3 separate regions of the Homo sapiens genome follow, and all the other regions are linked to region 3. Evidence: promoter capture Hi-C in 16 types of primary human blood cells and fetal thymus (Javierre and others, 2016). All regions are on one chromosome and are shown on one strand. The core of a region is centred on a gene start or on the middle of the fragment in contact, and the rest is flanking DNA. Distances in the headings are between cores, read along the strand shown.

Evidence for each region. The method cuts DNA at HindIII sites, captures the fragments that hold promoters and counts their contacts. A CHiCAGO score of 5 or more calls a contact.
Region 1: a fragment that was not itself captured here is called in contact with the fragment with the promoter of HMGXB4 in region 3 in 1 of 17 cell types (neutrophils); the score reaches 6.5 in neutrophils.
Region 2: a contact is called between a fragment that was not itself captured here and the fragment with the promoter of HMGXB4 in region 3, in 1 of 17 cell types (neutrophils). The highest score is 9.3, in neutrophils.

Annotation. Positions count from the first base shown.
Region 1 is chr22:35,470,266-35,474,065 of GRCh38, forward strand. No RefSeq gene overlaps it. Among named protein-coding and RNA genes, the nearest start is that of RASD2, 69 kb to the right of the region's middle. The HindIII fragment of the contact is 1,349 bases long and covers 623-1,971 here.
Region 2 is chr22:35,433,401-35,437,817 of GRCh38, forward strand. It overlaps a transcript of MCM5 not described here. Among named protein-coding and RNA genes, the nearest start is that of MCM5, 35 kb to the left of the region's middle. RefSeq lists an enhancer at 1,742-2,243. The HindIII fragment of the contact is 2,268 bases long and covers 1,212-3,479 here.
Region 3 is chr22:35,255,114-35,258,885 of GRCh38, forward strand. It overlaps HMGXB4 (HMG-box containing 4), which reads left to right and starts at 2,380. Exons shown (of 11, transcript NM_001003681.3): 1 at 2,380-2,444. LOC105373017 (a long non-coding RNA gene) reads right to left here. Exons shown (of 4, transcript XR_938210.3): 1 at 3,075-3,772; 2 at 2,100-2,148. RefSeq lists an enhancer at 1,674-2,174 and a silencer at 2,440-2,939. The HindIII fragment of the contact is 10,131 bases long and covers 2,200-3,772 here.

The DNA of each region.
Region 1 (3,800 bases), core at 47-2,546, 210 kb after region 3:
TGGGATTACAGGTGTGACCCACCGTGCCCAGCCGTCAGTCCCTTCTTAAAAGCCCTGTGGCAGCTCCTCATGGCCCCAGGATGAAGAGGAGAGACGGAGGGGCAAGCAGTTTGCAAACCATCTGGACACTGGTGCCTGGGGAGGAGGCAACAACTCCTGCACTCAGCCCCTCGGCTGCGGAACTGGAAGAGGACACAGCCCCAAGGACAGAGACAAACAAACTGTGGGAGCCTTAGCTTCAGAGTCAAATAAATCTACGTTTCATCCTGTTTCTGCCACTTCCTGGGTGAGTGACTCTGGGCAAGTGCAGGGCGTGTGAACATTGGGAGAGGTGGCACCTGTGAAGTGCCTGAGCACATAGTAGGTGCTCAGTATGTTTGAGCTCATCTCCCTTCCTTCCCTCAGACCATGTCTCACATGCTGAGTTGGAAAAGGTCTGGTCGGGCTCTTGGTTACACTATGTATTATTTACATGGTATTGCACAAATCCCTAAACTATGCCATGTCTCTATTGATTAAAAAAAAATAGCCAAGTACACCCTAACACCTAATGATGATCATAAGATACATCTTGATTTCAAAGATGTCAAATATCAAAAGATGGTGTATCTCAGAATTGCTAAGCTTTGCTGCCCCAAACTTCACTCCTTTGCTGTCCTGAGTGTGTGCTTTTCAGCTTACGGTTTGTTGCCTCATGGTCTCAAGGTGGCTGCCAGGCATCCTATACTCTCACCCTCATCCCCATAAGGAAGATGAAAGGGCTGCCCCACAGTGGTTAGGTGACAGCCTCCCTTGTGTGGGGAGGACACAAGATCTTTTCTAGAAGTTGCTCAACAGACACACCATTGGCCAGAACTGGGTCACATGACTGCTGCTGTTGCAGAGCAGGCTGGGAAGGCTTTGACAAAGGAGGACAGTCATAAAGGCTTAGAACAATCCTTTTCAGCTCCTGTAGTGGGCGCCATGATGTTCTACCCTGAATGGGAGTTCTGCTAGCGGGGACAAAGTGAGTCGCCCGTTGGGCAGGCACATCTCAGACTCAGCCACAGACGAGACCTGGAAAACTCAGCGGACTCCGCCTCCCACCAAGACCTTTGATCTATTTATTTTTCCAGCATCCTTAATAGATAGCCATCCAGCCTCAGCTCAAACCCCTCTAACGGAGGACTCAGAACTTCACAGACAGCTCCCGGCCTTTCTAACTGCTGGATTGTTGAAATGCTCTTGCTTAGAGATGGAGCCAAATATGCCTCTTCCCACCAGTCCTGGCTTTGCCCCTTGGGGTCCCCCAGGTCCAGTGGGTTTTCTCTTGCTGGTGGTGCCTGCAGGTTTTGAAGACAGAGCTCACCCACACACCCCCACCCCCACTGCCTTCTCAGTTCCCGAATATCCCAGACATTTTCCTGACATTCTTAAAGGCATCAGTCATTTGTCATGGAGCTTCCTGTATTAGTCTGTTCTCACACTGCTGATAAATACATACCTGAGACTGGGCAATTTACAAAATAAAGAAGTTTAATGGACTTACAGTTCCACATGGCTGGGGACGCCTCACAATCATGCCAGAAGGCAAGGAGGAGCAAGTCACATCTTACATGGATGGTAGTAGGCAAAGAGAGAGTTTGTGCAGGGGAACTCCCGTTCTTAAAACCATCAGATCTCGTGAGACTTACTCACTATCAGGAGAACAGCATGGGAAAGACCCACCCCCATGATTCAATTACCTCTCACCAGGTTCCTCCCACTAAACGTAGGAATTGTGGGAGTTACAATTCAAGATGAGATTTGGGTGGGGACACAGCCAAACTGTATCACTTCAAATTAAGCAAATCATTTCAGCCATTCTTTCCTGAGAGTTCACTTTTGTCAGGCATTGTCCTCAGTCCTGGGTAGATAACAAGGAACAAAGCAGACCTTCCTTGGTCCGAGCCCACTGAGGAGCCATTTGTACATGTATTTCTTCCTCCAGGAAGCTTTCCCTGATTTCTGGATTGGCCTAGGAACTCCTTTTCTGGCTCCCACAGTCCCCATGCCCCTCTTCTATAACACTCCATGCACTCCTGACCTGAGTTTCTTTGTCTCCTACCCTGGACCGTGATCCCCATGAAGGCAGGGATGCATGTTGGTCATCAAGGTTGTGCTCAGAACAGAGCTGACAAATGGTGGGTGCTCGGTTTTTTGCTCTTTCCTCTATGAATGGGCAGTTACAGAGGTGGTTCTCAGAAGAACCGGGAGGAAGGGCATTTCTGGAGGTAAGGCTCATGCTCATGGCATTAGCCTCTGCTGGGACAGTCTCCATGCTCTTGGCCTCAAGCCTTCTCCTCGCTCCCCAGCTCAGAGCTGCAGGGTCAGGAGCCTGGTGAGCTTCTGGTACCCAGAGTGTCACAGCACAGGACAAGCAGCTGACTTAGCAGAAACAGGAATGCTTGCTCAGCCACATACCGACTGGGTGTCCTTGAGCCAGTGACTTAACCTCTCTGAACCTGTTTCCTTATTTGTAAAATGGAAACATGAACAGTGACCTCATGGGGTGATTGAAGGAGTTAATACCTGCCAATAACCTGGTGCATAGTGGGAGTGCCGCCACCTTCAGTTCTCGCTCCAACTAGTGGGGCTGCGGGTAGGGCCCTGCCAGCCTCTGCTCGAGCTGGAGGATGGTGCTGGGTGATGGGGATGGGCGAACATCAGGCAGTGTGGAAGACCCGGTGGCTTTGAAGAAGTAGGGCTTGGCATTCCCATGCAGCAAATCCCAGGGGACAGGGAAAAATCTGGGAAGTGACGTCTGCCGAGACCTAGGACAACTGCCCCAGACCACAAGGTGAGGTCTCCCAGGCCGGCTGGACATGTGCAGATGGATCAGCTCCCCATAAACCACACACAGGACAGAGATGAAGCCAAGATCCAGACAGGTCAGGTGACTTGTCCACGCTCACACAGCAGCTAGTCCCAGACCTCCAGATTCATGGCCCACTTTTACATTTTCTCTCTCTCTCTCTCTCTCTGTGTGTGTGTGTGTGTGTGTGTGTGTGTGTGTGTGTGTGTTTTGCCTCCTGCTTACCCAAGAGTATCTCCTTAATGGCCTCTCCTTGGAGATGACGAGGACATGAGCCTCTTCTTTATTCTCCCAGTGACCCACAGCTGCTGCCTCTGGTCCTTCCCAGCTCACCTAGCAGAAACCTGGAGAGGGTAGGAGGCCTGTGGGGGCAGATGCTCCAGAAAGGCATGTCCTTCGTTATTCTTTCACTGTGTTATGTCCTCTCTCTTCCAGACCTTTGCTCACGTGGTTCCTACTAAGCCTGCCAAGCAGGTTGGTGGCCTTCCTCCCCACTGTCTCAGAGACTCCAGGAAAGCAGCTACTAGGCTGCAGAGGGAGAAGCCAGTTACTCTTCTGTTGCCCTTGCTTGATTGTAAGCATCCTGAGGGCAAGGGCATTCCTGTCACTAGTACCATCTTAAGAAGGTCTACCCAGTGTCTAGTACCATTTGCAGTAGTCCCCGTGTTCAGCGCTATTTGCAGTATGGTTACTGTGCCCATTTAGCAGCCGAGAAAACAGAGACTCAGGTTATGAGCTAGTTGAGCTGAGAATGAAAACTGAGCTGGTGCTGGTGCCCGGTGATCACAATGAACAGTTTGGTGTTCTGATGATGTGCCAGAACTGTATCATCCCATTTCCCACACAAGGAGACAGAGGCAGAGAGAGGTCATGTTTCTTGCCTGAGATCACACAGGTCATAGGTGACAAAGGCAGATTTCAGACCTGGGGCTGGCTGCAGAGTCCATGTCCTGATCCACAACATTCT
Region 2 (4,417 bases), core at 1,096-3,595, 180 kb after region 3:
TGACCACAGCTCAGAGAGGGCATGTGGCATGCTCACAAACAGTCTGTTAGGGGCTTCCCCTGGGTCAGAACTCAGACCCCTCGGCTCTTAGTCCAATGCTCCTCTCCTAACCCAGGTTGCCTTTGGGGACCTTGGGGGGGTCTCTCATTTCATTGGGAATGCCTAATGGCATTGGTTGCCACGTGTTGCCATTGTTGGTGTATGTAAGTCGCTCTTCTGTCCTCATATCCCCACTCTGTCGTCCTGCCCCTTCTTGGGGGTGGATCCTGCAGGAGAGGGGGAAGCAGCCAAGCAAGGCTTCATTTCTACTTTTCCATCTGCAGGACCCAGGGCTGGGCACATTTGGTGCAACAGGCTGGAAATATTCTCCCCTACCCCACCCTCCCCATCCCTCCTCAGAGGCACTGGGCCGGGGACTGGAGCCTGTGGTGAGGTCCTTCCCCTCAAGCCCTGTCGGGGGCAGCCACTAAATGGCCCCAAGATCCCATGGACTCAAGGGATTCCATGTGGCATCCCTTCCCGTGCTGCAGAGGCTGGGAAACTTAACCACATTTCCAGACTCTCTTGCAGCTAGTGTTTCTGATGGCATGGAAATCCTGCCATTGAATGCAAACGCACAAGACTAGAATTTGGAACTGAGTTTCGTGGGGAGAGAGGCAGGGCATGGAGCATCCAAGCATCCATTTTGCTGTGTGGATGGTGGTAGAGTGCAGGCCTAATGCTGGAGCTGGCAGTTGTAATGGTGGCTTCTGAATTCCACAGCTTCTTGATGGAGGCAGGAGCCCTGGCATCTTAGCCCAGTTCAGCAGCGTTTTAGGCAGCTTTCCTGGATGCTCAGACACTTAGTAATAATATGCTTGAAAAAAAAAAGCCCTTTTTTTCCCTACTAGCTGGAATGGATTCCGTTGTCTGTCACTGAACCCTGATGATACATCTTCTACACACTGTGTGGGACAAGGCCCCATGGAAGTCCCAAGTCAGTAACCTGAACTCCCCACCCTCTCTGCCAAGAAAGAGCTTTTTTCTCTCAGTATCCATTTATCGGTCCCAGGGGAGCTCTCTGATTGGCTGTGCTTGGGCCAGTCATTATCTCCTGGACCAATCACAGTGGCCAGAGAGATGAGATGCCAAGATCAATTGGTCAGGTCCAGATCATTTCCTGCTTTTGTGACCAGGCGGGAAAGGGCCTATCTCCAGAAGTGGGATGAGAAAGCTTGGGCATTCCTACCACAGCCTGTCTGACAACACCTTTACCCCACAAGGAGGAACTATTAGTGAATGCCACACGGGACACTGCTGTAATGAAACACTGAGGACAGGAGATTATGACAAGAGTCCCACAGTTCCTGCTCATGGGTGATCATGCCTGTTCACCACTAATAGCCTGGGAAGGACGCACAACTGTCCCCATCTTTACCCCGACAATGCTTTGGGTGGGAGGGGGAAACTGAGGCACAGAGGAATGAGGAGGCAGGGCGCGGTGGCTCACGCCTGTAATCCCAGCACTTTGGAAGGTCGAGGTGGGTGGATCACTTGAGGTCAGGAGTTCAAGACCAGCCTGGCCAACGTGGCAAAACCCCATCTCTACTAAAATACAAAAATTAGCTGGGTATGGTGGCAGGTGCCTGTAGTCCCAGTTACTCAGGAGGCTGAGGCAGGAGAATTGCTTGAACCCGGGAGGTGGAGGTTGCAGTGAGCTGGGATAGCACCACTACACTCCAGCCTGGGCGACAGAGCAAGACTCCATCTCAAACAAACAAAAAGGAATGAGGAGGAGGCTGGGAGGCAGGGAGAGAGATGGGAGTTTGAATACAGGCCTCCCAATTTGCTGTGCATTGCTGGACCTGGAGGCAGACAGACCTGAGCTGTGTGTGACCCTGGTGAGGACCTCTGTCTCAGAACCCCAGGGGTCCAGTGTGCAGAGTGACAATGACCCTGGCTGTCTCTCAGGGCCGCGGTGGGGCCTCGATGGGGACTTGGTGGGACAGCATGTGCATGTGTGAAGACACCAGAGGCTCCTCCTGGTGCTGGTGGGACTTGATTCCTCAGGGAGGGGAGGAAGAAGGTGGTGGCCACCGGGCCTTTCAGTGAGGAGGCTTCTGCAGAACAACTCCCCCGTTGCTATGGTGACCAGACTCTCGGGGAGTCTGGCTTATTTTTGAACTTGGTCTACACAGCAGCAGCTTTGTTCCCGGGTCTTCCTGCTGCAGCCTTTGTCCTGTGGGCTTGTCGCCTGAAGCCTTGGCACAGTGGGTCTGAGTGGGACACAACCCTGGCCAGGAGGGGCAGGCAGAGGGAGGGGGAGACCCAGTAGGCACCCCCTGCCAGCCTCCCTAACTTGGCCTTGGAGGCGGAGGCCTGGGTTCTAGTCCTGCATCTGCTGCAGGCCTGCTGGGCAACCTCTCGGGCATGTCTGCTTGAGAGGGAAAAGGAGAGGGTATTTTTTGCTGTGCTTCCCCCAGTTGAATGAAAATGGAAGGAAATGGCCGGGCGCGGTGGCTCACGCCTGTAATCCCAGCACTTTGGGAGGCCGAGGCGGGCGGATCACCTGAGGTCGGGAGTTCAAGACCAGCCTGATCAACATGGAGAAACCCCATCTCTACTAACAATACAAAAATTAGCTGGGCATGGTGGTGCATGCCTGTAATCCCAGCTACTCGGGAGGCTGAGGCAGGAGAATCGCTTGAACCTGGGAAGCAGAGGTTGTGAACTGAGATCGCACCACTGCACTCCAGCCTGGGCAACAAGAGCAAAACTCAGTCTCAAAAAAAAAAAAAAAAAAAGAAAAAAAGAAAATGGAGGGAAAATGGCTAGCCCCGATGGGTCCAAGATGGTGTTTGGGACCCCTGCCCTCCCCGGCCTGGATCCAGCTCTTAACAGCCTCCCCACCCACAGACCGCATGGGCCCCAGAGGCTTCATGCTCCTGCTTCTCTGACCTTCCGCAGCTTCCAGGCCTCGCCACTACCTCCACACGCTGTTACATGTGACAGCATCCAGGCTTGGAGTTCAGCCCCTTCCTCAGTTTCCACCAAAGCCCTCTCTTATGTGCAAGGCTTTATTGAAAGCTGGGCAGAAGGGGCACCTGGGGGCTTCACGTTTTCTATGAGGGGGCCCTGCTGTTTCTACTCCTTTGCCAGCGCCCACTGCACCCTGCACATCTCATGGGCCGGGGCTTCTGGCCTTTTTCCATCTCCCTGGCTTCGTGCCCTCTCCCCCTCAATTCCCCCCTTCACTCTTGTGCAGAGCTGCTCAGCTCTCCCCAGCCCTGGCTTTCTGCCCCTGCATCACCTTCCCATGTCCAAACCCATTGGGGCAGGGCCACAGGCCATTCTGGGTCAGGACCCTGTCCTAGGAAGGCAGCCTGGCTGTAATCATATCCCCACCCGACCTTCACAAACAAATGAGAAGGGGCTGGCAAAGTGCCCTTGGGATTATGGGGTGGGTAGAAAAGACGTTTATCTGTGGGCCTAGAAACCCAAGCTTTGCCAGGGGGAGAGTCAGTTCGCAGATGAGGATGGAAGGGTGACTTCACAAAGCCAGATGGAGAGGGGTCCCAAGACTCAGCCTCGCGTCACTAGGGCCACCTCCTTCAGAGGACATGAGGAGGCCATTGGCCTGGATCCTCCAGAAATTTCTCTGAACACAGCCACAAACTTCTGACTTCTGGGCAGGTGATCAGTTGACACCTGCATGCAGAACAGCCCCAGGAGGATGCTGGGCTCTCCTCCCCTCCCCCTTACAGGAAGTGCCCATGGCTGGGAATTGACCAGGGCTTAGGCCTAGGGAATGGGCAGTGCCCCGAACATACTGGGTTTCTTTGGTCATGTGACTGGACTGGCCAATCAGAATGCCCCATCCCCTGGCCTAAGGATTGGCTCCTGGTGGGCAGGTGACTCAGGCTGGGCCAATCAGTCTTTGAGATTTGATTCATGGACACCAAAAGAGAGAGGTTCTCTCACTTTCTACAGGATTGTGGGGTGGCATAACAAGAGTTGGGTGGGCCAGCAGCCATCATCATGCCATGTAGACAGAGCCTACGTGGGAATGAAACTGATACACTGAGGAAACAGCTGAGAGATGGAATGACAGCCTTGAGAATCTTTGAACCCCTGGATCCAGCTAAGCCTGAAGGCAGTTCTGCTTTGTGAATTTCTTTGTATGTCTGCAAATAGATTTCCTTTCAGTTAGGGTGGGTCGGGCTCCTGACCTTGTAACTGAAAGGTTCCTGACTATCAGAGAGGAGATGAAAGAGGGAAAGAAGACGGGTTACAGAAAGGGCCATACCTAGCCATGAGTCGGGGTGTCACAACTGAGGCCCTGGGGACCTTTTAGTCCCTTATCTCCAAATCTGACCAATTGTGAGAGTCACCTGGGTAGCCTGTTAAAAACTGATGCTGGTTTAATGGGTCTGAGGCC
Region 3 (3,772 bases), core at 1,130-3,629:
CATAGTGATTGCTTTTTGTCTGGACACATGATCTAATTCAGGCAATAAGAATCAATCCCATGACTTTTGCCAAAGCAAAAGGGAAAAAGAAACTCCTTCCAGGGCCAGGCATGGTGGCTCACATCTGTAATCCCAGCACTCTGGGAGGCCAAGGCAGGAGGATTGCTTGAGTCCAGGAGCTTGAGACCAGCCTGGGCAACATGGTAAAAAAAAAACAACAAAAAAAACCCATCTCTACAAAAAATACAAAAAGTACCTGGGCATGGTGGCATGCACCTGTGGTCCCAGCTACTTGGGGGGCTGAGGTGGGAGGATTGCTTGAACTCAGGGGGTCGAAGCTGCAGTGAGCTGTGATCGTGCCACTGCACTCCAGCCTGGGTGACAGAGAAAGACCCTGTCTCAAAACAAACAAACAAAACCTCCCTCCACAGGGACACTGCTAGCAGGAAAGATGATGAAGCTTGGAGCTGCTGGAGTCATCACCTGAATCTGAGAATAAAGCTAACAGAGGAGAGCACCACAGACACGTCAAAGGACCAGCTTGAGTTACCTCCCTGGAAGTGACCATGTCTGCAGGTACTGGAAATTTCAATCATGTGAGCCAATAAATTCCCCTCTTCTGGGGAAACACATGGAAATGGGTTTCTGTCACAACTGAAATCATCCTGACCAATGGATTTAGGGCTCTGAAGAACAAAAAGGAAATACATCATTAGGGCTCTTAAATGCCTCAAAGGGAAGCCTAACGTCAGGCAGGGTGTCCCAGAAATGCAATCTAACACCTTTTGGTGAAACTCATTGCCTGTCTTTTTGGTGAGTAGGATGGGAGCTGCGGAGAAAAAGGCCATGCTACTTTTATTAAGTATTTGCAGTTACATTTTGCAAATGATTTCAGCAACTTTATCTCAGGTGTTTTAACATCTCAGCATCTCACAGTTGTAAGAAACAGAATCAATCTTCTACTCAGTGCAGAGGGGGAGAGAGCATGATATAGCAAAAAGAGCACTGAACCAGAGTCTAACAATCTGGCTTTTCATCTTTATCTGATCACTGATTAGAGTGTGGTCTCAGACAAATCACCTTGCTTTTATTGGTCTCATGACTACCTCGTCTTCAAGCACTCACCCAACTCTGCAATGGAAAATACACTAGGACAGAGGTTCTTAATTTTTTATGGGGCCTGGGCCCTAGGAAAACACACACTGCACACATGATTTTACGTTGCATGGGGTTCACAACTCTAGAAGCCAATCTACATCTCTAACTTCTCTGCTTTACAGTAACACCAGCTTCTGCTTGAGCGCTCCTCCAGTGGGAGGGAGCTCACTACTCACAAGGAAGCCCATTGTACTACTGAACTGTACTAGAAAAATAAGTTATTCTTCATATATATATATATTTTTTGAGATGGAGTCTCACTCTGTCCCCCAGGCTGGAGTGCAGTGGCGCAATCTCGGCTCACTGCAATCTCCGCCTCCCGGGTTCAAGCGATTCTCCTGCCTCAGCCTCCTAAGTAGCTGGGATTACAGGCACGCGCCACCACGCCTGGCTAATTTTTTGTATTTTTAGTAGAGACGGGGTTTCACCACATTGGTCAGGCTGGTCTCGAACTCCTGACCTCAGGTGATCCACCCACCTCAGCCTCCCAAAGTGCTGGGATTACAGGCGTGAGCCACCGCCCCTGGCGTTCTTCTTCATATCAAACCAAGTTCTATACACTGTAATTTCTACTCATTGGTCGAAGTTCTCAATGGCAAATCAGAAAAATTGTGTTCTCGCCTGTATATGACATCTCTTCCTCTCTCTCTCTGAAGACTGTTTCTAACTAAAAAATGTAGATGATTCGCCATGCAAATTATTTTACTGTACATTGTTACAAAGATAAGTTCTTCACCTCACCCCTAATATGCCAAATGTTCAAATGTAGATGCTGAAGTCCAAATAAGCACACTGCTATTAATCTGCATAGATCTAGGTGTTGCAAAGAGGAGAACTGCTGTATAACAATATCTTGAAAGAAACAGCATAGTATTTTGGGGAAAGCACTGCATTCAGAATCAGAAGACTTGGAGTAATACTCGGTCTCACATTCCAACTACCTGTGTATCCTTGGGCACGTCACTTAACTTCTCTCAGCCTGGTTCTCTTCTGCAAAATGCGACAGGAATACAGTGAGGATTAAGTGAAATAATGTTTGTAAGCTTCTAGGGCAAGGCTGGGACATAGCAAATTCTCAATAAATAAGTGCCAGCTCCCGCGCTCAGCAGGCTCCGAGTTTTATTCGATGCGCTCGGCGCTCTTGGTCGAGCGGGATTCCCCCTCCGGAGCCCGAGTCTGCGCTCTGGGCTCGACTGAGGCTCCCTGGCCGCTCGCGCTTTTCTCTCCTTCTCCAAGATGGCGGCGATCGGCGGCGTTGAGGCGGGATCCGGGCGAGCCGAGTGAAGGTAGCGGCGAGCGGAGACCCCAGGAGACCGGGCTGGGCCCCCACCCTGAGGCGGCAGCAGCCCCGCCCCGTCGCCACCCGCCGCCCTGGGCCCGCGACATCACCTCTGGGGTGCCCCAGGCCCTTCGCGGCCTAGCCCAGGGGCCGAGCCGGGGACTGGAGTAGCGGCCGCAGCCGCCCCCAGGAAGGGGCTGGAGCGGGCAGAAGGAGGAGGGCGGGCGGGAGCTGTTCAAACGGGGAAGGCGGGAAAGCTGCGGGGCCGGGAGGGGGCGTGCGGCCGCCCCGGGGGCCTGCGGACCCGGGCCGCCCCTCCCCCTGCCCGGGCCGTCTCCGCCCTCGGGGGCGCCGTGAGGCCGCCGGAGACGCGGGAACCCGGGTTCAGGTCGAGCTGTGCGGCTCGGAACCCGCGATGCGGGGGTCCCTCGGGCTGTCAGGGGGAAAGGGCTCGTGGCCGCGGCCACGGGAGGGCTGGGGCTGCGGCTGGCAGGAGAAAGTACGAGGAGCTTTCTTCTTTTCCTCTTCACAGAGCTTTGTTGAGCTAGCTGTTGCCGCAAAACTGCCGGGAGAATCCCACTGGTTTGCCTTGGGGACCACAAAAATGGTGGTCCTGGGGGCTGTTTGTGTAAATCACCTGGTATTTTGTGTGTTTCTTGCGTGCAACCCGGCTTGGCCGTGCCTTCGTGGTGGGCGCCTTCTCCATGCAGGCCCATTTTCCCTCCACCAACTACTACTTGTAGATTCACTTTATAGCGTGCAAAAGCGGAGAAACATCTCTGTCCCCTCTTTTGGAGGGCTAAGCTGGTGGCTGATTATATTTCCTCCTAATAGAACAAAGTAAAAAACTGAATCCCAAATAAAGCCTGTTGATTGGACAAGGCTTCTCAAAATTCGATTGCTGGTCTTATGGAATGTGTGTTGTCAGCCAATCTGTGCGGTGGTCGTGGTTCCGCTTAATTGCACTGCAATGAGAGGATTCAATCCCCATCCCCGACTGTCGGGATCTCTGCAGCTTCCAGAGCTGGCAGGGGCTGGGAGTGCTGCCTAGGTAGGTCCCTGGAGAAGGGAGTGGCAAGAGGATTCGGAGTCACCGTGTTCGGAGATTGGAAGAAACCTGGACGAAGTTGAGAAGGCATCACTTGTCTGTATCGTAGAAGTAACAAGAAAATTTCAGAAATTGGCAACCGGCGGATGTGCATCTTCCTTTACCTGCACTGACTGGCATTTTGAGTTCTTGAAAGGAGTGGTTGGAAGAAGAGAATGCAGAATCTTGGACATGGCTCTCATCCTGGAACAGACCTGGAGTTCAGAATTTCTCTTACTGTCCGTGTG